5 separate regions of the Homo sapiens genome follow, and all the other regions are linked to region 5. Evidence: promoter capture Hi-C in 16 types of primary human blood cells and fetal thymus (Javierre and others, 2016). All regions are on one chromosome and are shown on one strand. Each heading gives the region's core, a stretch centred on a gene start or on the middle of the fragment in contact. The rest is flanking DNA. Distances are from core to core; before and after follow the strand shown.

The links. Contacts are between HindIII fragments. The CHiCAGO score rates a contact against its expected background, and 5 or more counts as called.
Region 1: a contact is called between a fragment that was not itself captured here and the fragment with the promoter of DCTN2 in region 5, in 1 of 17 cell types (M2 macrophages). The highest score is 6.6, in M2 macrophages.
Region 2: a fragment that was not itself captured here is called in contact with the fragment with the promoter of DCTN2 in region 5 in 8 of 17 cell types (M2 macrophages, M1 macrophages, erythroblasts and 5 more); the score reaches 11.6 in M2 macrophages.
Region 3: a contact is called between a fragment that was not itself captured here and the fragment with the promoter of DCTN2 in region 5, in 1 of 17 cell types (neutrophils). The highest score is 5.1, in neutrophils.
Region 4: a contact is called between a fragment that was not itself captured here and the fragment with the promoter of DCTN2 in region 5, in 1 of 17 cell types (neutrophils). The highest score is 6.8, in neutrophils.

What each region holds. Positions count from the first base shown.
Region 1 is chr12:57,687,296-57,691,337 of GRCh38, forward strand. No RefSeq gene overlaps it. Among named protein-coding and RNA genes, the nearest start is that of OS9, 4.8 kb to the right of the region's middle. The HindIII fragment of the contact is 2,602 bases long and covers 1,187-3,788 here.
Region 2 is chr12:57,705,853-57,710,172 of GRCh38, forward strand. The region is part of intron 5 of OS9 (OS9 endoplasmic reticulum lectin); the gene reads left to right. Among named protein-coding and RNA genes, the nearest start is that of OS9, 14 kb to the left of the region's middle. The HindIII fragment of the contact is 399 bases long and covers 1,146-1,544 here.
Region 3 is chr12:57,314,773-57,318,926 of GRCh38, forward strand. The region is part of intron 2 of R3HDM2 (R3H domain containing 2); the gene reads right to left. Among named protein-coding and RNA genes, the nearest start is that of STAC3, 66 kb to the left of the region's middle. The HindIII fragment of the contact is 3,169 bases long and covers 1,133-4,154 here.
Region 4 is chr12:57,289,660-57,293,740 of GRCh38, forward strand. It overlaps R3HDM2 (R3H domain containing 2), which reads right to left. Exons shown (of 24, transcript NM_001394031.1): 11 at 2,913-3,008. Among named protein-coding and RNA genes, the nearest start is that of STAC3, 41 kb to the left of the region's middle. The HindIII fragment of the contact is 4,048 bases long and covers 15-4,062 here.
Region 5 is chr12:57,545,193-57,549,485 of GRCh38, forward strand. DCTN2 (dynactin subunit 2) reads right to left here and starts at 2,000. Exons shown (of 14, transcript NM_001261413.2): 1 at 1,836-2,000; 2 at 836-904. The coding sequence starts at 1,871. RefSeq lists an enhancer at 2,129-2,268. The HindIII fragment of the contact is 9,827 bases long and covers 1-4,293 here.

The DNA.
Region 1 (4,042 bases), core at 1,238-3,737, 140 kb after region 5:
ATTGGAAGAGTTAATATTGTTAAAATGACCATACTATCTAAAGCAATCTACAGATTCAGTGCAATCCCTATCAAAATATCAAGGTTACTTTTCACAGAATTAGAAAAAAAAATCCTAAAAAATTCATATGGAAAAAAAAACAGCCCAAATAGCCAGAACTTTCCTAAGCAAAATAAACAAAGCTGGAGGCATCACATTATCTGACTTGAAATTATACTACAAGGCTATAGTAAACAAAACAGCATGATATTCATTTAAAAATAGACACATAGATCAATGGAACAGAGTAGAGAACCCAGAAGTAGATGCACATATTTAGAGTCAAAATTTTTTTTTTATTGAGTCAGGGTCTCACTCTGTTGCTCAGGCTGCAGTGCAGTGGTGTGATCATGACTCACCGCAGCCTGGACCTCTTGGGCTTAAGCAATCCTCCTGCTTCACCTTTAGAGTAGCTCAGGACTACAGGCACACACCACCATACACAGCTAATTTTTTTAATTTTATTTTTTGTAGAGTCAGGGTCTCACTATGTTGCCCAGGCGGGTCTCAAACTCCTGGCCTCAAGTGATCCTTCTGCCTTAGCCTCCCAAAGTGTTGGAATTATAGGGATGAGCCACCATACCTGGCCTGATCTTTGACACAGTCGACAAGAACACACACTGGGCCAACCTGGGCAATATAGTGAGGCTCCATCTCTACAAAAAATTAATTTAAAAAATTATCTGGGAGTGGTGGCATGTGCCTGTAGTCCCAGCTACTCGGGAGACTGAGGTGGGGGAATAGCTTGAGCCCAGGAAGTCAAAGCTGCAGTGAGCCATGATTGTGCCACTGCACTCTAGCCTGGGCGACAATGCGAGACCCTGTCTCAAAAAATCAATAAATACACACAGGCACACACACAAGGGAAAGAATATCCTTTTCAACAAATGGTATAAACAGTGCTGGGGAAATTGGATTGCCATGTGCAGAAGAACGAAACTGGACCCCTATCTTTTACTACATGCGAAAATCAACTCAAGGTGGACTAAAGACTTAAATGTAAGATGTGAAACTATAAAAATACCAGCCAAAAACCTAGGGAAAACTCTTCTGGACATTGGCTTAGCAAAATAATTCATAACTAAGACCTCAAAAGCACAGGCAACAAAAAACAAAAATAGGCAAGTGGGACTTAATTAAACTACAAAGCTTCTGACTAGTAAAAGAAATAGTCAACAGAATGAACAGACAACGTGCAGAATGGGAGAAACTATTTGCAAAATACACATCCAACAAGGGTCTAATATCAGAATATAAAAGGAACTAAAATTCGACAAAAATCTCAGATAACCCCATTAAAAGTGAGCAAAGGATATGAATAGACATTTTTTTCCAAAAATACATACAAATGGCCAAGAAACATATGAAAAAATGCTCAACATCACTAATCATCAGAGAAATGCAAATTAAAACCACAATGAGACACCGTCTTACAACAGTCAGAATGGCTATTACTGAAAAGTCAAAAAATAACAGATGTTGGTGAGGACATGAAGAAAAGAGAACACTTAAACACTGTTGGTGGGAATGTAAATTAGTACAACTTCTATGGAAAACAGTATGGAGATTTCTCAAAGAACTAAAAAATAAAACTACCACTTGATTCCACAATCCCATTACTGGGTATCTACCCAAGGAAAAGAAATTACTACATCAAAAAGATACTGGCATTTGTACGTTTACTGCAATACTATTCACAATAGCAAAGATATGGAATCAACCTAAGTGTATATCAATGGACGACTGGTTAAAGAAAATGTGGTCTATATATACAATGAAATACTATTCAGCCATAAAAAAGAATGAAATCTGTCTTTTGCATAAACATGGATGGAATGGGAGACCATTATCTTAAGTGAAACAAGTCAGAAACAGAAAGACAAATGTTGCATGTTCTCACTTATAAGTGGGAGCTAAACAATGTGTACACATGGACATAGAGTGTGGAATAATAGACAATGGAGACTCAGAAGGATGATGGAGTTTGAGGGGGCTGGATGATGAGAAATTACTTAATGGGTACAATGCATATTGTTTGGGTAATGGATACCCTAAAAGCCCTGACTTCACCACTGCACAATCTATGCATCTAACAAAATTGCACTTGCATTCCACAAATTTATACAAAAATAATGTTGAATCAAAAAACATTATAGTTTGGTGGAACATAGAATTATAGGTTGGAAATAATTTCCCTAAAAAATTTGAAGATATTTTATATTATTTTCTAGCTCCCAATGTATTTTTTCTTTTTTAAGAGACAGGGTCTCACTCTGTCACCCAGGCTGGTGTGCAGTGGCGTGATCATGGCTGACTGCAGCCTTGACCTCCTGGGCTCAAGCAATACTCCCACCTCAGCCTCCCAAGAAGCTGGGATCACAGGCACTCGCTACCATGCCCTACTATTTTTTTTAAATTTTTTTTTGTAAAGATGCAGTCTCCCTATGTTGCCCTGGCTGGTCTCAAACTCTTGGGCTCAAGTGATCCTCCCATCTTGGCCTCCCAAAGTGCTGGGATTAGAGGAGTGAGCCACCACACTCATTCCTCCCAATGTTGATGAGTTTGTAAGCCCAATGCTGTTCTGATAAGGAATCAATTAAATACAATTAAAAATTTTATTTTTGTGTGGGCACACAGTGGTGTATATATGTATATATTTATGGGGTACATGAGATACTCTGATACAGACATGCAATAAGTAATAATCACATCATGAAAAATGGAGTATCCATCCCCTCAAGAATTTATCCTTTGTGTTACAAACAATCCGATTATACCCTTTTAGTTATTTTAAAATGTACAATTAAATTATTATTGACTATAGTCACCCTGTTATGCTATCACATACTAGGTCTTTTTCATTATTTCTATGTTTTATACCCATTAGCCATCCCCACTTCTCCTCAACCCCACACTACTCTTCCCAGCCTTTGGTAACCATCCTTCTACTCTCTATCTCCGTGAGTTCAACTGCTTTGGTTTTTAGCTCTCACAAATAAGTGAGAACATGCTAAGTTTGTCTTTCTGTGCCTGGCTTATTTCATATGACATAATGACCTCCAGTTTCATCCACGTTGTTGCGAGTTACAGGATCTCATTCTTTTTCATGGCTGAATAGTAAGTACTCCTATGTGTATACGTACTACATTTTTTTAAATCCATCTGTTGATGGACACTTAGTTTGCTTCCAAATTTTAGCTATTGTGAATGGTGCTGCAACAAAAATGGGAGTACAGATATCATTTCGATATACTGATTTCCTTTCTTTTGGGTATATACCCATCAGTGGGATTGCTGGATTGTATGGTAGCTCTATTTTTAGTTTTTTGAAGAAATTCCAAACTGTTCTCCATAGTGGTTGTACTAATTTACATTCACACCAACAGTGTACGAGGGTTCCATTTTCTCCACATCCTCTCCAACATTTGTTATTGCCTGTCTTTTGGATAAAAGCCATTTAAACTGGGGTAAGATGATATCTCATTGTAGTTTTGATTTGCATTTCTCTGATGATCAATTATGTTGAGTACCTTTTCATACACTTGTTTGCCATTTGTATGTCTTCTTTTGAGAAATGTCTATTCAGATCTTTTGCCCATTTTTAAATCAGATTATTAGATTTTTTTTTCTTTTGTTTGTGCTCCTTATATATTCTGGTTATTACTCCCTTGTCAGACAAGTAGTTTGCAAATATTTTCTCCCATTCTGTGGCTTGTCTCTTCACTTTGTTGTTTTCTTTGCTGTGCAGAAGCTTTTTAACTTGATGTGATCCTGTTTGTCCATTTTTGCTTTGGTTACCTGTGCTTGTGGGGTATCTCAAGAAATTTTGCCCAGGCCAATGTCCTGGAGAGGCTCCTCAATGTTTTCTTGTAGTAGTTTAATAGTTTCAGGTCATAGATTTAAGTCTTTTTTTTTTTTTTTTTTTTTTTTTTTTTTTTGAGACAGAGTCTCGCTCTGTCACCCAGGCTGGAGTGCAGTGGCGCGATCTCGGCTCACTGCAAGC
Region 2 (4,320 bases), core at 95-2,594, 160 kb after region 5:
ACATGGTCACATTATTGGTTTTACATATTGATCTTACACTCAGCAACTCTTTTTTGAACTCTTTCATTTTTAGTAGTTCACAAATTCTTGTGGATTTTCTGTATAGATAATTATGTCATCTGCAAGAGAAACAGTTTTGGTTTCTTCCTTTCTAAGTTGTATACATTTCATTTTTCTTATACCTCGAGTGCAACAGAAGTGGCAATGATGGGCATCCTTGACTTGTTTCTGACTTTAAAGGGGATGCTCCTGAAGTTTCACTGTTAGCGTGATGTTTTCCTGCAGGCTTTTTGCAGATACCTTTTATCAGGTATGTGAAGTTCCATTCTGTACCTAGACTGCTGGATATTTTCACCATGTATAGGTGTGGAAGTTTAACACATGCTTATTCTGTGTCTATTGAGATAGTCATATGGTTTTTTTAATATTAAAAATGTTAATTTATTTTCTAGTTTTTTTTTATTCTTTCACTTCTGGGATAATCCATGGTCATGAAGTTTTTTTTTTGTACATTGCTATATTCAGTATCCTGATAGTATAATTAACTTTTATAACTATTTTCGTAAGTGAATTGGTCTATAATTTTCTCTTCTTGTACTTACCTTGTTTTTGTATAAAGTTGCATTCACTTCATAAAATATCTTGAGGAGCTTCCCTCTTTTTCTGCTCTGTGGAGCAGTTTGCTAAGATAGAGATTATTCTTCAAAGGTTAGGTAGGGTCGGGTGTGGTGGCTCATGCCTGTAATCCCAACACTTTGGGAGGCCAAGGCAGGAAGATTTCTTGAGCCTAGGAGCCCAGCCTGAGCAACATAGTGAGACTCCTGTCTCTCAAAAAAAAAGTTTTAAATTAGCCTGATGTGGTGGTGTACACCTGTAGTCCCAGTTACTTGGGAGGCTGAAGCAGGAGGATTGCTTTAGTTGGAGAGGTTGAGGCTGTTAGGAGCTGTTATCACGCCACTGGACTCCAGCCTGGGTGACAGAGCATGACTCTCTGAAAAAAAAAAAAAAAAAAAAAAAGTTTAGATAAAATAAATCCTCCCCATCCCCACAATATGCTACAAAACCGGTATATTGGGGGGATCGTTGTTGCTACTGATTTAATTTATTTAAAGATTATAAGACTTTTTTGGTTTGCTGCATCATGAAGCTTTAATAAAGTATAATTTCATAGGCCATTATTCATTTGTCTAAATTTTCAAATGTATTAGTATAAAATTACAGATTTTTTTGTTTTTTAATAATCTCTTTTTGTAAATATATCCTCTTTTGCATTCCTAATATTGACTTTGCCTTTTCTCTTTTTTCTTGATCTATGTTGCCAGAGGCTTGTCTAGTTTATTAGTCCAATAACCACCTTTTGGTTTTGTTTATCCTCTCTGTTGTTCATTTAGTATTTCACTAACATTGTATTAGTCCATTCTCACATTGTTATAAAGAAATACCTGTGACTGGGCAATTTATAAAGAAAAGAGGTTTAATTGTCTCACAGTTGTGCTGGCCATACAGGAAGCATAGCAGCCTCTACTTCTGAGGAGGATTTAGGAAGCTTCCAATCATGGTGAAAGGCAAGTGGGGAGCCAGAGTCTCACATGGTGGAAGCAGGAGCAAAAGAGAGAGGGGGGACATGCCACAACCAGATCTCTTGAGAACTCACTCACTGTCACGAGAAAGCACCAAGGGGATGGTGCTTTATGCTCCACTATGCCCAGCTAATTTTTTTATTTTTAGTAGAGACGGGGTTTCTTCATGTTGGTCAGGCTGGTCTCGAACTCCTGACCTCAGGTGATCCACCTGCCTTGGCTTCCTAAAGTGCTGGGATTACAGGCGTGAGCCACCGTGTCCCGCCACATGTTCGTTATTTTATCTTTGTTATTTCCTTCCTTCTCCTTTCTTTGTGTTATTCTGATTTCTTTTTTTTCTAACAACTTGAATTTTTTTTAACATTAAAAAATTCTGGCCAGGCATGGTAGCTCATGCCCTATAATCCTAGCATTTTGGGAGGCCAAGGTGGGAGGATCACTTGAGGCTAGGAGTTTGAGACCAGCCTAGGCAACACAGTGAGACCCTGTCTCTATGGAAAAAAAAAAAAAATTAGCCAGGTGTGGTGGCACGTGCCTGTGGTCCCAGCTACTTGGGAGGCTGAGTTGGGAGGATCTCTTCAACCCAGGAGGTCAAGGCTACAGTGAGCTATGAACACACCACTGCACTCCAGCTTGGTGACAGAGCAAGACATCATCTCAAATTTTTTAAATAAAAAATTCTATATTAAATTTTCTGAATAGGCATAATCACATTCACATAACTCAACTATAGAAATGCTTAAAAGGTATACAGAGAAAAGTATTAACACATCTTGTCCCTCATTAGCCTCTTTCCATCCTTAAAGAAAGGTAACCATTGTTAATTTCTTTATATACTCTGAGATTTTTTTAAATGCACATATAAGCATATATCTTTGCACTCTTTCCAAATCAATATATATATAAAACCTTACTTGGGCCAGGTGTGGTGGCTCATGCCTGTAATCCTAGCACTTTGGGAAGTGGAGGCAGGAGGATCGCTTGAGGCCAGTAGTTTGAGACCAGCCTAGCCAACGTAGTGAGATCCCATCTCTACAAAAAAATATTTAGCCAGGTGTGGTAGTGTGTGCCTGTGGTCCCAGCTGCTCAGGAGGCTGATAAGGGAGGATCTTTTCAGCCCAGGAGGTCAAGGTTGCAGTGAGCTATTGTCATACCATTGCACTCCAGCCTGAGCAAAAGAGTGACACTGTCTCAAAAAAAAAAAAAAAGTCATCCTTATTCCTGCATATAGTTTCTGTTATTCTGTTATATAGTTGTATCATTTTTTATCTAAATGGTTCCCTGTTGATGGACATTTAGCTTGCTTTAAATCTTTTATTAACACACAAGTGCTGCACTGAATAATCTTGTACTTACAGAGGATATGTAAATTGAGTTCCTGGAAGTAAGTTTGTGTAGTTTTGCTATGTGCTGCAGTAAGTTTGTGTAATTTTGCTACGTGCTGCGAAATCACTCTGCTTAGGTAAATTACTTTCCCTCCAACAACGTATGGGAATGCTGATTTCCCTATAGCCGTGCCAACCTGGTATATTTTTAAACTTTTGGATTTTGGCCAATCATCAGGTAGGCATCAGAGAAAGAATGATTTCTTAGTGTGGTTTTAATTTGCATTTCTCTTAAGAAAAAAATGTCTAATTTTCCTCATTTAAGGGTTTTCTCTACTCCCTTCTTTACTCTTTTCTTTCAGCTGTCCAAATTCTTTGCTCGTTTTCCTAATGGCTTGCTGGTCTTTTTCTTGTCAATTTATAAGAACTCTATATAGTAGAGATATTGTCCTTTTGTCTGTGATGTGAGTTGCAAATATTTTTATAACTTCTTCAGCGAAATGCTTTTCAATCTGTCTTCTCTCTTAATTATACACTTAAAGCTCTACATTTCACTCTGAGTACTATTTTGGTTGCATCCCTCAAATTTTAGTATGTGGTGTTTCCATTTTCATTATGGTTTCTACGTGCTTCTGAACTTATTTAGAATTATGCTTAATATATTTCTAAACAAATGTGTTTTGCTTTGTTGTTTTTATATGATTGCTATTGGTTTCTAATTTTATGCCATTGTGTCAGTGATTCTTTTGGTGATTGCTGAGACTTTCTTTTTGATGAATTTTTAAAAAATTGTATGTTTGCGCTTGAAAGCATGTCTTTTCTCCAATTAAGCAGTTCAAGATGCTCACCGTATTGTTCAGATTTTCTACAATTTTATGTTGAGTTGACTAGTGATCATTTAAAGAACTCTGTTAATATTCCCACTGTGATGGTGGATTTGGCAATTTTGTTAATTTTTTATTTATATGTTTTAAGGCTATGTTTAATTTTGAAATTAAATAATTTATAGGTTTTCTAATGTTGCACCAACTTTGCATTCCTGAAATGAACCAAATGTGGTCATATATATTATCCCTGACGATCCCTTTTTTTTTTTGTTATTACTTTTTTTTTGAGACAGAGTCTCACTATGTCACCCAGGCTGGAGTGCAGTGGCATGATCTCGGCTCACTGCAACCTCTGCCTCCCAGGTTCAAGAGATTCTCGTGCGTCAGCCTCCCAGGTAGCTGGAATTATAGGCGTGTGCCACCATGCCCAGCTAATTTTTGTATTTCTAGTAGAGATGGGGTTTCGCCATGTTGGCCAGGCTGGTCTCAAACTCCTGACCTCAAGTGATCCGCTCACCTTGGCCTCCTGAAGTGCTGGGATTACAGGCGTGAGCCACCCGCACCTGGCTGTGGGTAGATTTTTAACTA
Region 3 (4,154 bases), core at 1,467-3,966, 230 kb before region 5:
TCAGTATTTTTCTCTTTTCCAAGCTTAAATAGCCTCAAATTTATTTGTCAGAAAGAAAAGGTGATATAAAAAATTATAAAGCAGTTTTCGTTTTTTGGTTTTGTTTTTGAGACAGGGTTTCACTCTGTCACCCAGGCTGCAGTGGCATGATCGTGGCCCACTTCAGCCTCAACCTCCCCGGGCTCAGGTGATCCTCCTATCTCAGCCTCCCAAGTAGCTGGGACTACAGGTATGTGCCACCACGCCTGGCTAATTTTTCTATTTCTTTTTTTTTTTTTCTCTTGTTGAGACAGAGTCTCGCTCTGTCACTCAGGTTGGAATGCAGTGGCAATCTCACTCACTGCAACTTCTGCTTCCCAGGTTCAAGTGATTCTTCTGCCTCACCCTCCCAAGTAGCTGGCATTACATGCGCTCGCTTCCATACCTGGCTAATTTTTATATTTTTAGCAGAGACGGGGTTTCACCATGTTGGCCAGGCTGGTCTCCAACTCCTGACCTCAGGTGATCCACCCACCACTTCGGCCTCCCAAAGTGCTGGGATTATAGGTGTGAGCCACTGCACCCAGCCTAATTTTTCTATTACTTTTAGAGATAGGGTTTTGCCATGTTGCCCAGGCTGGTCTCAAACTCCTGAGCTCAAGTGATCCACCTGCCTTGGCCTTCCAAAGTGCTAGGATTACAGGCCTCAGCCACCGTTCAAGGCACAGCAGTGGTTTGTTTCTTTTTCAAGGATGGGCCTTAATTACCAAATGGGTATATTTCGTCAAATCAAAATGACAACTTTGCAGCTCTCCTTCACATGTGGGTCAGGAAAAGACCAACTATCTGGATACCTGGAATAATATCAGTGTCCAACCACTGTTTCTCAGCCAAAACACTGAACACAAACAAATAAAAAATGATCTTTCATCTGTAGAATATGGTCACATATTCAACCTCAAGTTTTACGGAGACACATGGCTTCCTTCATTCATTGGAGAAACAGGAAGACTTGAACTTTAGCTTCTCACAGATACCCATAAAACAGACTCATTTAACTACCCACTTTTAAGAATTTAATCAGTTGGCTGGGCGTGTTGGCTCACGCCTACAGTCAGAGCACTTTGGGAGGCCAAGGCAGGTGAATTGCTCAAGCTTAGGAGTACAAGACCAGCCTGGGCAACATGGCAAACCCCATCTCTACCAAAAATACAAAAATTAGCCGGGCGTGGTGGCACACGCCTGTGGTCCTAGCTACTTAGTTGAGCCTGGGAGGCAGAGGTTGCAGTGAGCTGAGATCACTCCACTGTACTCCAGCCTGCGCAACAGAGTGAAACCTGTCTCAAAAAAAATTTAGTCAGTCATTCTACTGAGACCACCAGCCTCTTGAAGAGCTGTATAAAACAAAATAATTCTTACACTGAGAAAAATGAAGCAGCAGAGGAAAGGGCACCTCCCCAGACTTCCCTGTTCTTCCACATTCATTGATCTAACCCAGATTTCTTTTGGCGCTTGCCTTCCCCTGAGAATACATGATCAGGGAAGGAGACCTTATCCCCAATCCCTGGGAGATGGATATAAATTAGTTAAACCAATTGTGGTAATTCTGTTTCCTTTTTGTGACTGGTTTTAGAAGGGACAAGTGAGACACAAAGGGACTTTGTTGAATGGAAAAGGTTTCCTATTTTATTTAAAATTTTTTTAAGCCTCTGGAAGAAACAGGTATCTTCTACCAAAGGTGATCTTGGATGCAGATGATACCTAGACTGTGGCAGCACCCTGCCAACACATGGAGGATGGGGAAGCAGAGAAAATAAGCCTGCATCCATCCTTTTTTTTTTTTTTTTTTTTTGAGATGGAGTCTCACTATATCACCCAGGTTAGAGTACGGTGGTGAGATCTTGGCTTACTGCAACCTCCACCTCCCAGGTTCAAGTGATTCTCCTGCCTCAGCCTCCCTAGTAGCTGGGATTACAGGCATGCACCACCACGCCCAGCTATTTTTTTTTTTTTTTTTACATGGAGTCTCACTCTGTCACCCAGGCTGGAGTGCAGTGGTGTGATCTTGACTCACTGCAACCTCTGCCTCCTGGGTTCAAGCGATTCTACCTCAGCCTCCTGAGTAGCCGGGATTACAGGCACGTGCCACCACGTTCAGCTAATTTCTGTATTTTTGGTAGAGATGGGGTTTCTCCATGTTGGCCAGGCTGCTCTTGAACTCCTGACCTCAGGTAATCCACCCACCTTGGCCTCCCAAAGTGCAGGGATTACAGGCGTGAGACATCGCACCTGGCCTAATTTTTGTATTTTTGTAGAGATGGGGTTTTGCCATGTTGGCCAGCCTGGTCTCAATCTCTTGACCTCAGGTGATCTGCCCACCTCAGCCTCTCAAAGCGATTGGAATAAAGGTGTGACCACCTTGCCCAGGCTTTTTGTGTTTTTTTTTGTTTGTTTTTTTGTTTTTTTTTTGAGACAGGGTCTCAGTCTGTCACCTAGGCTGGAGTGTAGTGGCATGATCACAGCTCACTGCAGCCTCAACCTCTGGGGCTCAGCCTCCTGAGTAGCTGGGATTACAGGCGCCCATCACCACGAATGGCTAATTTTTGTATTTGTAATAGAGATGGGGTTTTGCCATGTCACCCAAGCTGGTCTTGAACTCCTGGGCTTAAGCAATCCACCCGCCTTGGCCTCACAAAGTGCTAGGATTACAGATGTGAGCCACCATGACTGGCTGGAGCCTGCATCCTTGATGCTGTGATTAGACAATAGTCAATCTCGACCCTCCCTATCTCTGGACTTCCTGATATGTGAAGTTATAAATCCTCTTACCATTTAAGATACTCTGAGTTGAGTTTATTATGTCAGAATCCTGGGAGATAGTTAAAAAAAAAAAAAAGGGTATATTAAGAAGATAGTTAAAAAAAAAAAAAAAAAAAAGGGTATATTAACAGAGGAACGGGCCAGGCCGGGTGGCTCGCGCCTGTAAAGGCCGAGACAGGCGAATCATGAGGTCAGGAGTTCGAGTCCAGCCTGGCCAGCATAGTGAAACCCCGTCTCTACTAAAAATACAAAAAAATTACTAGCCGGGTGTGGTGGGGGGTGCCTGTAATCCCAGCTACTCAGGAGGCTGAGGCAGGAAAATCACTTGAACCTGGGAGGCAGAGGTTGCAGTGAGCCAAGACTGCACCATTGCACTCCAGCCTGGGCAACAGAGCGAGACTCCGTCCCCGCCCCCCCAAAAAAAAAAAAAAGGAATGGCTGGGCGAGGTGGCTCATGCCTGTAATTCCAGCACTTTGAGAGGCTGAAGCGGGTGGATTACTTGAGGTCAGGGGTTCGAGACCAGCCTGGCCAATATGGTCAAACCCCATCTCTACTAAAAATACAAAAATTAGCCGGGCATGGTGGGGTGTCTGCCTGTAATTCCAGCTACTTGGGGGGCTGAGGCAGGAGAATAGCTTGAACCCAGGAAGAGGAGGTTGCGGGCAACCGAGATCATACTACTGCACTCCAACCTGGGCAAAAAGGCAAGACTCTGTCTCAAAGAAAAGAAAAAAGAGAGGAACTACCTGGACCAGGCAGAGAAGTCCAGCTCTTTAAGTAGAAATAACTGACAGGCTGGGTGGTGCAGTGGCTCACTCCTGTAATCCTAGCACTTTGGGGGGCCGAGGTGGGCAGATCACAAGGTCAGGAGTTCGAGACCAGCCTGGTCAACATAGTGAAACCCCATCTCTACTAATAGTACAGAAATTAGCCAGGCATGGTGGTGTGTGCCTTAGTCACAGCTTCTCAGGAGCCTGAGGCAGAAGAATCGCTTGAACCTGGGAGGCGGAGGTTGTGGTGAGCTGAGATCGTGCCACCGCACTCCAGCCTGGGCAAACAAGCGAGACTCCATCTCAAAAAAAAAAAGAAAGAAAAGAAAAAAGAAAGAAAGAAATAACTGACAGGGAGACAGGCAATAATAATAATAATCAGCTAAAACTTTTGAGTGCTTACATTGTGCCAGGCACTATCCTAAAATATTTTATGTATCTCATTTAATCTTACAATGATCCTATTACATATTTATTCTTACTATTATCACCATTTTACAGACAAGTAAACTGAGGCACAGAGAAGTTAAACACTTTGCTTAAAAGGGCACACAACTGGCATATGGCAGAGCCAGGACTCAAAT
Region 4 (4,081 bases), core at 789-3,288, 260 kb before region 5:
GTGGTGGATTCCCAAGCTTTAGGAAAAGGTACCAAGAGTGTCCAGCTGCTGAGCAGAGTGAGCTCCATGCAGAGCAGAGCCTATGCTGGGCAGCTTTTCCAATATACAGCTCAGGCTCCAGAGAAGGCTGCAGCAGCAGCATTTCCATCCAAACACCCTTCTTGCCACTTCCTTTCTTTTTGGCCTGCCTCCTGCTCCCACACCCAACCCCACAACTCCACCCCTAATCAGCTCCCTTTAGCCAGGCTCCTCTCCACATGGAATCTTTGGAGTATGATGGGCTTTGGCCATAGTTCCTTGTCTAGACTTTCTGAGATTCCTGATGCCTCTACCACAACAAGAGTTAGAAGTGCTGAAATCAAAGTGATAAATCTACAAGGATCTAACAAAGAATACATACATTAGTAGAGGCTTGAAGACTAGAAATCAGGAGAAAAAAAAAGAGAAGAGCTAACTTTGCCTTTGTTATGGTTGTAGGTAGATACAGTCCACTGTTGTACATAATTAGCTCTAATACCCTATTATAAATTGTCTGTGCTTTCAGAACATCTGTAGCTTTGCTAATGGCTATCATAGTGGGGCAGTCATTTTCCAGGTGTAAGTGAAGCAGAGGAACACATCACAGATAGTCAGCTAGGTTACGATGTCACTGGTACTTCTTAATCTAAAGAGCCCAGAGCAGAGCAAGCTATTGGGAGGTGGTTTACATTAGGGGGTTAAGAGCATAGACTCTGGAGCCAGGCTGAATTCAAATACTTAGCTCTTTTGCTAACTAGCAGTGTGAACTTAGGTGGCTGTTTAATCTTTATGAGCCTTAGTTCCTCTTTTATAAAATGGGGAAAATAATATAAACTACTTCATAGGCCTAGTATGAGGACTGAGTTCATCTATATCAAGTACTAAGAACAATGCCTAAAAGATAGTAAGTGCTATATAAGTGCTTGCTACTTTTTTTTATTTTTTTATTTTTTGAGATGGAGTTTTCCTCTTGTTGCCCAGGCTGGAGTGCAATGGCACGATCTTGGCTCACCACAACCTCTGCCTCCTGGGTTCAAGTGATTTCCTGCCTCAGCCCCCTGAGTAGCTGGGATTACAGGCATGTGCCACCATGCCTGGCTAATTTTGTATTTTTAGTAGAGACGGGGTTTCTCCATGATGGTCAGGTTGGTCTCGAACTCCCGAGCTCAGGTGATCCACCTGCCTCGGCCTCCCAGAGTGCTGGGATTACAGTCGTGACCCACAGTGCCCAACCAGTACTTGCTGCTATTAACCACCAACCTGTTCCGTACACAACTTAGGGGGTTATCACTGGCCACAGCCATGTACAAATGACATCTCTCCTCTCATTCCATCCAACTGGTTTGTAGGTAAAGGTAGAAAACCCTCTTTGGGCTATGGTTGAATAATTTGGAAGATGGACTTTTCTGACTCAGAATGGAAGTCTACATAATAGGAGGTAAGAAGATTCCTTCTTGGACTTTGGGCCAGAAAGTTTGCTGTATATCAGTTCCCAGTGAGGATCTCTGAGACAATGGCGCAAGTACATACAGTTGTTCAGTTTTTTAGTTGGAGACAGTATTTTTCTAAACTAATGATGATGATGAAAAAATATATATATATATATTCTCCCCCCTTGGTGAGAAAGGGGAGAATGGGGGAATGGGAGGAAAGTAGTGTTCATCTAAGTATATTGATTAAAACTGACCATCTTTTGCCAGGCACAGTGGGTCATGCCTATGATCCCAGCACTTTAGGAGGCTGTGGCGGAAGGATCACTTGAGCACAGGAGTTTGAGACCAGTCTGGGCAACATAGTGAGACCCCATCTCTACAAAAAATAAAAAAGTTAGCCAGGCGTGGTAATGCGTGCCTGTAATCCCAGCTACTCGGGAGGCTGAGGCAAGAGGATCGTTTGAGCCCAGGAAGTTGAAGCTGCAGTGAGCTGTGACTGTGCCATTGCACTGCAGCCTGGGTGACAAAGCGAAACCCTATCTAAAAAAAAAAAAACAAAAAAAAACAAAATAAAAAACAAAGAAAACCCTGACCATCTTTTGACAATGAAGGGAGACTGGCTTTCCCTCTTTTGTTACTCATGTGATTGTGAGATGGTGCTCATATCTGGATACTACATTTTCTGGAGATTTGTTTCCCTCTTGTACACCCACAACCTTTCCTGAATTTCTGCTATTCTTCTCTTCAATCTGGTAGGCAAAGGCAACCAGATACAGGGGTACCAAGTATATTTGATATAGTCCACACATTTAAGAGTAACATTGCCTAAACTGATTCATGTTGGCTTTTAGCCCTAGGAGCTAGTCCTGTTGTAGGAAGCAAGGTAAGAAATATAGGAAGAAAGAGACTTCCTTTTCAGGTAGAGACTGGAGAGAACAGTGGTACTCTCTGTGCATGTAGAATGTGGAGCTCATAGAGGATGGATGCCAGACCTGTGCTCTAACAATCACCAACATATCCTAAAAATGAGGCTGGTCAAACAAGATGAATGTACAGCCTGTGTGAACACTATGTCTTCCACTTAGAAGCAAAGATGCCTAAAATGGATAGAGGGAGTGAAAGAGGGTAAGCAGAAGGAGGGTTTTAGAGGCAAGATTCAGACCCTGCCAAAACCATTTCTATTTTCAGTCTAGGCAAATTTACCAAATTCAGCCACTCCAAGTTATAGTTCTCTTTGAATACCATATGGCAGAATGTATTGAAAACAATATAAGTGAAAATCTGCAGCTTCCCAATAAGCCACATTTAGTTTTAGAGATCAAATCTAGGGTTGGCTGATGTTGGTTAAAATAAAACAAACAAACAAACCCAAAAACATTTGTGGAGGGTTCATTCCATTCACAGTTCCAATGATTAAGAGCTAAAAGCTATGGGCTGACAACTCTCAGATGCTACACTTACCTCTCGGGCAAATATTCTCTCTCGGACCCTTTGATATTCCTCCTCTCTCTCTTCTATTGACTTGCTCCTCCTTCCATCCTGCAATGGAACTCTGATCTAGATCGATGAGCAGAATTAAGCTAGTTAAGTTCTCCTCGTACTGCAAGCTCACTGCACACCAGCAAGGAAGAGAAACCGGGAAAGTTTATAGTTGCCATCAAAAAAATGGAAAAAAAAAAGAATAAAATTTCCAGTCCTGGAGAAGTTTCACTGGGTACATCTGACCATGCAGTTTGGGAGATCAGGTTTTCTGGATGGCTGGGGACTCTCCAAATCCCCACCCCTCCCACCCCCGCAGTATCAAGAATAACAACTATTTATAAGGACTGGGTTGCTTCCCTCTAGTAATCAGGTAGCCTCCAGTCAGTAAGGATCGAGAAAATAGCCCTGGGAAAAGGAACAACACTGCTTTAGAGGGAAAGCAAAGGACAGAGGGAAGCTGGAACGGGAGAAGAAACAGGTGTTTAGCAGAGCTGAACAGTAGAGGAGGAGGTTTATAGAACTAGCACCTGGCATTATTCCTTATTTAGTCACTAATGCCATGGCCTGAAGACCCAAATCACACACAGCTCAGCAAAGAGGGCCTTGGAAATGAAATCCCAAGGGCGAAGCTAAACTCAAAGCCTAAGCATTTTTTTCCTGAACTTAACTATATTAACTGGAGGTGGGGAAGGGGAGAGACAAATTACAGAAATAAAGAAGAAAGAGAACAGAGCAATACAAAGAGAAAGAAAAGGAGAACAGATAGAAAGAGGGGCAGAGAAAGGAAGAGAAGTAAGGTACAGTGGAGGAAGGGGAGAGACAGAGAGATAGACAAGGAAAATAAGAAAATAGAGGATAGAGAAGAACCTTACATTCTCTAGAAAATGTAGTGAGGTAACCAGACGGGATGGCTGGGGAGATCACCACCTCTGAGTAGCCTACCATCTAAATCCTCATCATGATCTTTCCTCTCCTGGCCTGTAATTGGTGAACACTGTCCAGGGTAGGGTGTAATAGAGTGTCCTTATCCATCCTGCTCTTGAAGGCAAGGAGTTCTAAGGGAGAAAACTCATCAAATGAATATCACCAGATTATAAAAGATTCTGACTTCCAACCCAGAGGCTTTGAAAGCTTCACATGAAGCAACT
Region 5 (4,293 bases), core at 750-3,249:
AGCCCAGCTGTCTTCAGAAATAATAGAACCTAAAACACATCCTATAAACACACCTCTTGGCACTTAAACAGAGTTTTTACTATGTTGATTTCCATTCACTCAATTTTTTTTTCCTTCTATATGTTTCCTATATGTATCCTAATTCCCCATTAGTCTGGGGCTCATTGGGGGCAGAGACATTTCTTCCTCTGCATTGCACAAAAAAAACCACAGAATGAACACACTCAATAAACCATACTAAATGTTTCCCCTCACAGTTAAAATGTATCCGTACCTAATTACTCCATCCTCAGAATTCTCGGATCTAAAAATGCAACCACAGTCTCACATCCGCTGATGTGAAATATTTACATTCTTCCTCAAATTTGTTTTGCTCTAAAATCTTGGAATCACTTTCTTAATTCCTTGCCCAATGGATACTGGATATTCATATGGAAAAAGTATTTCTCCATATTTCAAAGTCTAGTTCTTGGTAGCAGTTTATTACAAGTGCCCAGGCTTCATGATTCATTTCCATGGGTTAGAACCCAGGGGCCTAAGTCACTAGCTCCAAACCTGTTTTGAGATATTTCAATTTTATTTAAAAGGCCCAAGAATCAGGGCTTTGCAAACAGATGTTGTTAGCTGTAATTCCGCTGACTTGACTCTCCCTCCTGCCATTGCTCATTGGTGGCTGCAAGCCCAGCAAGGTCTTTGCAAGCCCTGCAACCTATATACCACCCAGGCTGGGGTTGGCATACCCGCTTATTGCTGTAGCTCCCCCGAGAAAGGGAAGGACCTGTCTAGGGGAGAAAGGTCAGAGTCCGGAGGAGTCTGTGGCAGCACACATTCTTACCGCATCGAACTCCGCTTGATCATCCTCAGGTAGGTCGCTAGTTTCATAAACATCTGGCTCATTCCTGGCCTGCAGGTAGAAGCAGTGACCACCCAACCTCACTACCCAGCATCCAACAACACCCCTTCCCCCACTCCATTTGAATAAGCTAACAGAGAAGGCGGGGTGTGATGTCAGGGTTCTGTCCTTTCTCCTCCACCTGCCCCGTGAGTCAACAGTATGTCAGTTCCCATGTCTCAAGGGGTAGGGATGACAGCGGAAACAATTGGGACCTGACAGTAAACGGTGAGTGTAAGTGATAGCAACGATGTTACCCTAAATCTAGAGGCGGGCAGGTCCTTGGCAATCACTATTGCCAAAGAAGGTGAAGGCTATCCTCCAATTAGGCCCCGTACACCACCACCCTGGCACAAGGATTGAGAGTGACTCAGGACCTTAGTACTCAAGGTCCTGTGTCCCAACCCTCACCTTGAGAAGCAGGCAGGGCAGCACAAAAGGAAGGTACACGCCAGGATTGTCATGGGAGTGGGGGCTGGGGGAGGGCATAGGTTCCCTCAAGGATAGAGCTCCCCATCTGGCACAAGAGGGTTCTGCCAGATGGCAGAACCTCTTCCTTGGCAGGATGAAGGCCATCGTTAAGTGGTCTGGTGTGTGTGTCTGGGGTAGCGATGGGGTCTTATGGAGAGATTTGGGGGGGACATGGGAGGCGTTGACACGGATGGTGGAAAAACTCAGGCACAAGAGGTCAGTACCCGGAGTCGATTTCTGGGCCGAGCTACCGGCGACTGCCGGAAAGGGGGCCTGGTGCGCCGTCCGGCGGCCCGGCCCAGTCGGGTCAGAAGAGTTCGGGGGGTGCTGAGGCCGATCGGAGAACGAGCGGCGGGAGCCCTTGGGCGGAGGATGGGCTGCAGGCGGGAGGGGTCGCGGGCTGGTTTCTGCTGGGGGTCCTTGGGAGGTCGGGGGCGCGGTCCTGGGGAGCCGGGGCCGGTCCTGTACTCACAATGCCGGGAAGGTCGGCGTATTTAGGGTCCGCCATGGCGGCGGCGAGACGGGCTGGGGGACCCGGGCCTCGGTGGAGCCGGGGCCGGTGTTCGGGTAGGGGAGAGGCTGGGTTCGGGTCCCGGGCTAAGGCGGCGGCAAAGGGAGCGGCAGATGAGCAGGAAGTCTCGCGACAGCAGTAGCACAGCAGAAGGGTAAAGCAAAAGTCGCGAGAACAGCCCTGCTGCCACACCCCTGGAGAGGCCGGGATTGGGGAGAACGAGGCCAGGGAATGAGGTAATGGCCAGGGGACGCCGCCTAGGATTGTGGGATGTGTAGTTTTGGTGTACTGGAGCTTGGGCGGGGAGCGACAATAACGAACCTTGGGGAGCTATTTCATACAGCCTTTTCTCTCACTTTTACAGCAAGTCAGTGAAAGAACATTTATAATTCCTGTTTGGGGCTCCCAGGAATAAAATGACTAGATTAAATGATACAGGTAGTCATACTGTGACACAGCCGGGGTTTCAAAAACAAGAAGTTTGCTTGATACTGTGTATTATAAAAACAAAATAAAAACAAGAAGTAAAATTTAGTAAACGCGTAGTGTATGTTAGGAATGAAAAAGTTAGGCAATCTTCTCAAGTAAGGGCTTTCAGATAATTTGAATTTCAGATAATAAGTAGGTGTGTGTGTGTGGTGTGTGGTGTGTGGGTATACTAACCCCCCAAAAATTAAGTATCTGAAATTCACATTTAACTGGGCATCCTGTTTTTGTTTTTTGTTTTTCAAATCTGGCAATTCTATCTGAAGTTCATAAGTAGGTAAGTGGTGTCTCCATGTCTGTCTGAACACTCTCTGGGCTCTTAACTACTTCGTTAATAGTTCTCAGACTTTTATTTATTTTTCAATTTTTTCAATTTTGTGGGTACACAGTAGGTGTATGTATTTATGGGACACATGAGATATTTTGATACAGGCATGCAATGTGAAATAAGCACATCATGGAGAAGAGGGTATCCATCCTCTCAAGCATTTATCCTTTAAGTTACAAATAATCCAATTACTCTTTAAGTTATTTTAAAATGTACAGTTGAGTTATTCTTGACTATAGTCACCCTATTGTGCCATCAAATAGTAGGTCTTATTATACTTTCTAATTTTTTGTACCTATTCACCAACCTTACCTTCCGTTCTCAGACTTTTAAATTTCATCGTTCAATAAAATTAAAACAACTACAAACCTTGAAGATTTGCCTTTTTATTTTATCAAGTAAGTATATTACAAATAGAAAACCTATTATTTACTGTCACCATCATTACTTGGTAGAAAAGCAAGAAGGACACACTCAGAATAAAAGATAGTCCTTTGAAACTTATCAAATCCATCTTTATATTAAAAAAAAACTCACCATTGTTCTTTTGGAGGTGAGGGCATACTCAGTGAACTTTTGTCTCTGACCAGTGACCCTCCATGGACTGGCATTTTGAAACCCCTTTACTAAAGATGCCACCTTGGAGCCCCTGGGGACCCAAGGATGGGATGTTTCCCAGGATGTTTCCTGAGCTTGCAGGATGCTGCAACACTTAGAAATTGTGCCAAACCAAGTGACTAGAGAGTTCCTGAGTTCGGAACTCGTTGTCTTTCTTTCTCCTGGCTCCTCCCCAAGCCTCTATCCCTTTCTCCATAGTCCTACAGCTTTCCTGTCCCATTCCTTATGTTGGACTCTTTTCTTTCAGTTCCCTTAAGATTCAAGGTAGGTTAGAGGTGTAGCCCCAATGTGGGAAACCCCCTGAGTTCTGAATAGTTAGGTCTTGTCTGGCCAGGCTATCAGCCTCTTACTTTTGTCCCATAGTGTCTTAAGTGACCTTAACCACTCACCAGACAGTTGCTGAGCAGAACTTTCCTTTCCTCCTCCTTCTCCCATCCACCCTGCCCTTCCTCTTTGCCTAGAACCTCAACTCCTGCAGTCCAACTCTCTGTTGGCCAGCAGAGGCCTGTGACATGGAGAAAAATCAATTTGGCCAGCTTCTTGGTGGTTCTTTCCAGGGGCTGCAGCAGGAGTCTGACCCAAAGGAAGGAAGGACAAGGAATCTCTGGGCTTGGCATTTCTTTCGTTTTTCTTCCCCCACACCTTTTTTTTTTTGGCCAGGGAAGGGGGCTGAAGTATTGGGACTCTATCCTCCAATGGTTACTGAGACAGAAAACACACACTCCCGTAGGTATCTGAATTTGCCTGAAACCCAAATGCCGGCTTTGCCTCAGACTTCAAAGTCTCTCTGGCCTTACCCATCCCCATCATTGCCCCTCCTTCACTGCTTTCTGACTCCCTTTCTCTTGCAAAGATGTTTCCCACCCATCTTCCTCCCATCCTCAGCCTAGGACACAAAAATAAGTATTGTATCTGCTTTTGAATTCCCATAACCCAGAATGGGAGTTTATCTTCCCTGAAACTGGGGACCTGGTGTGTACGTTGGGG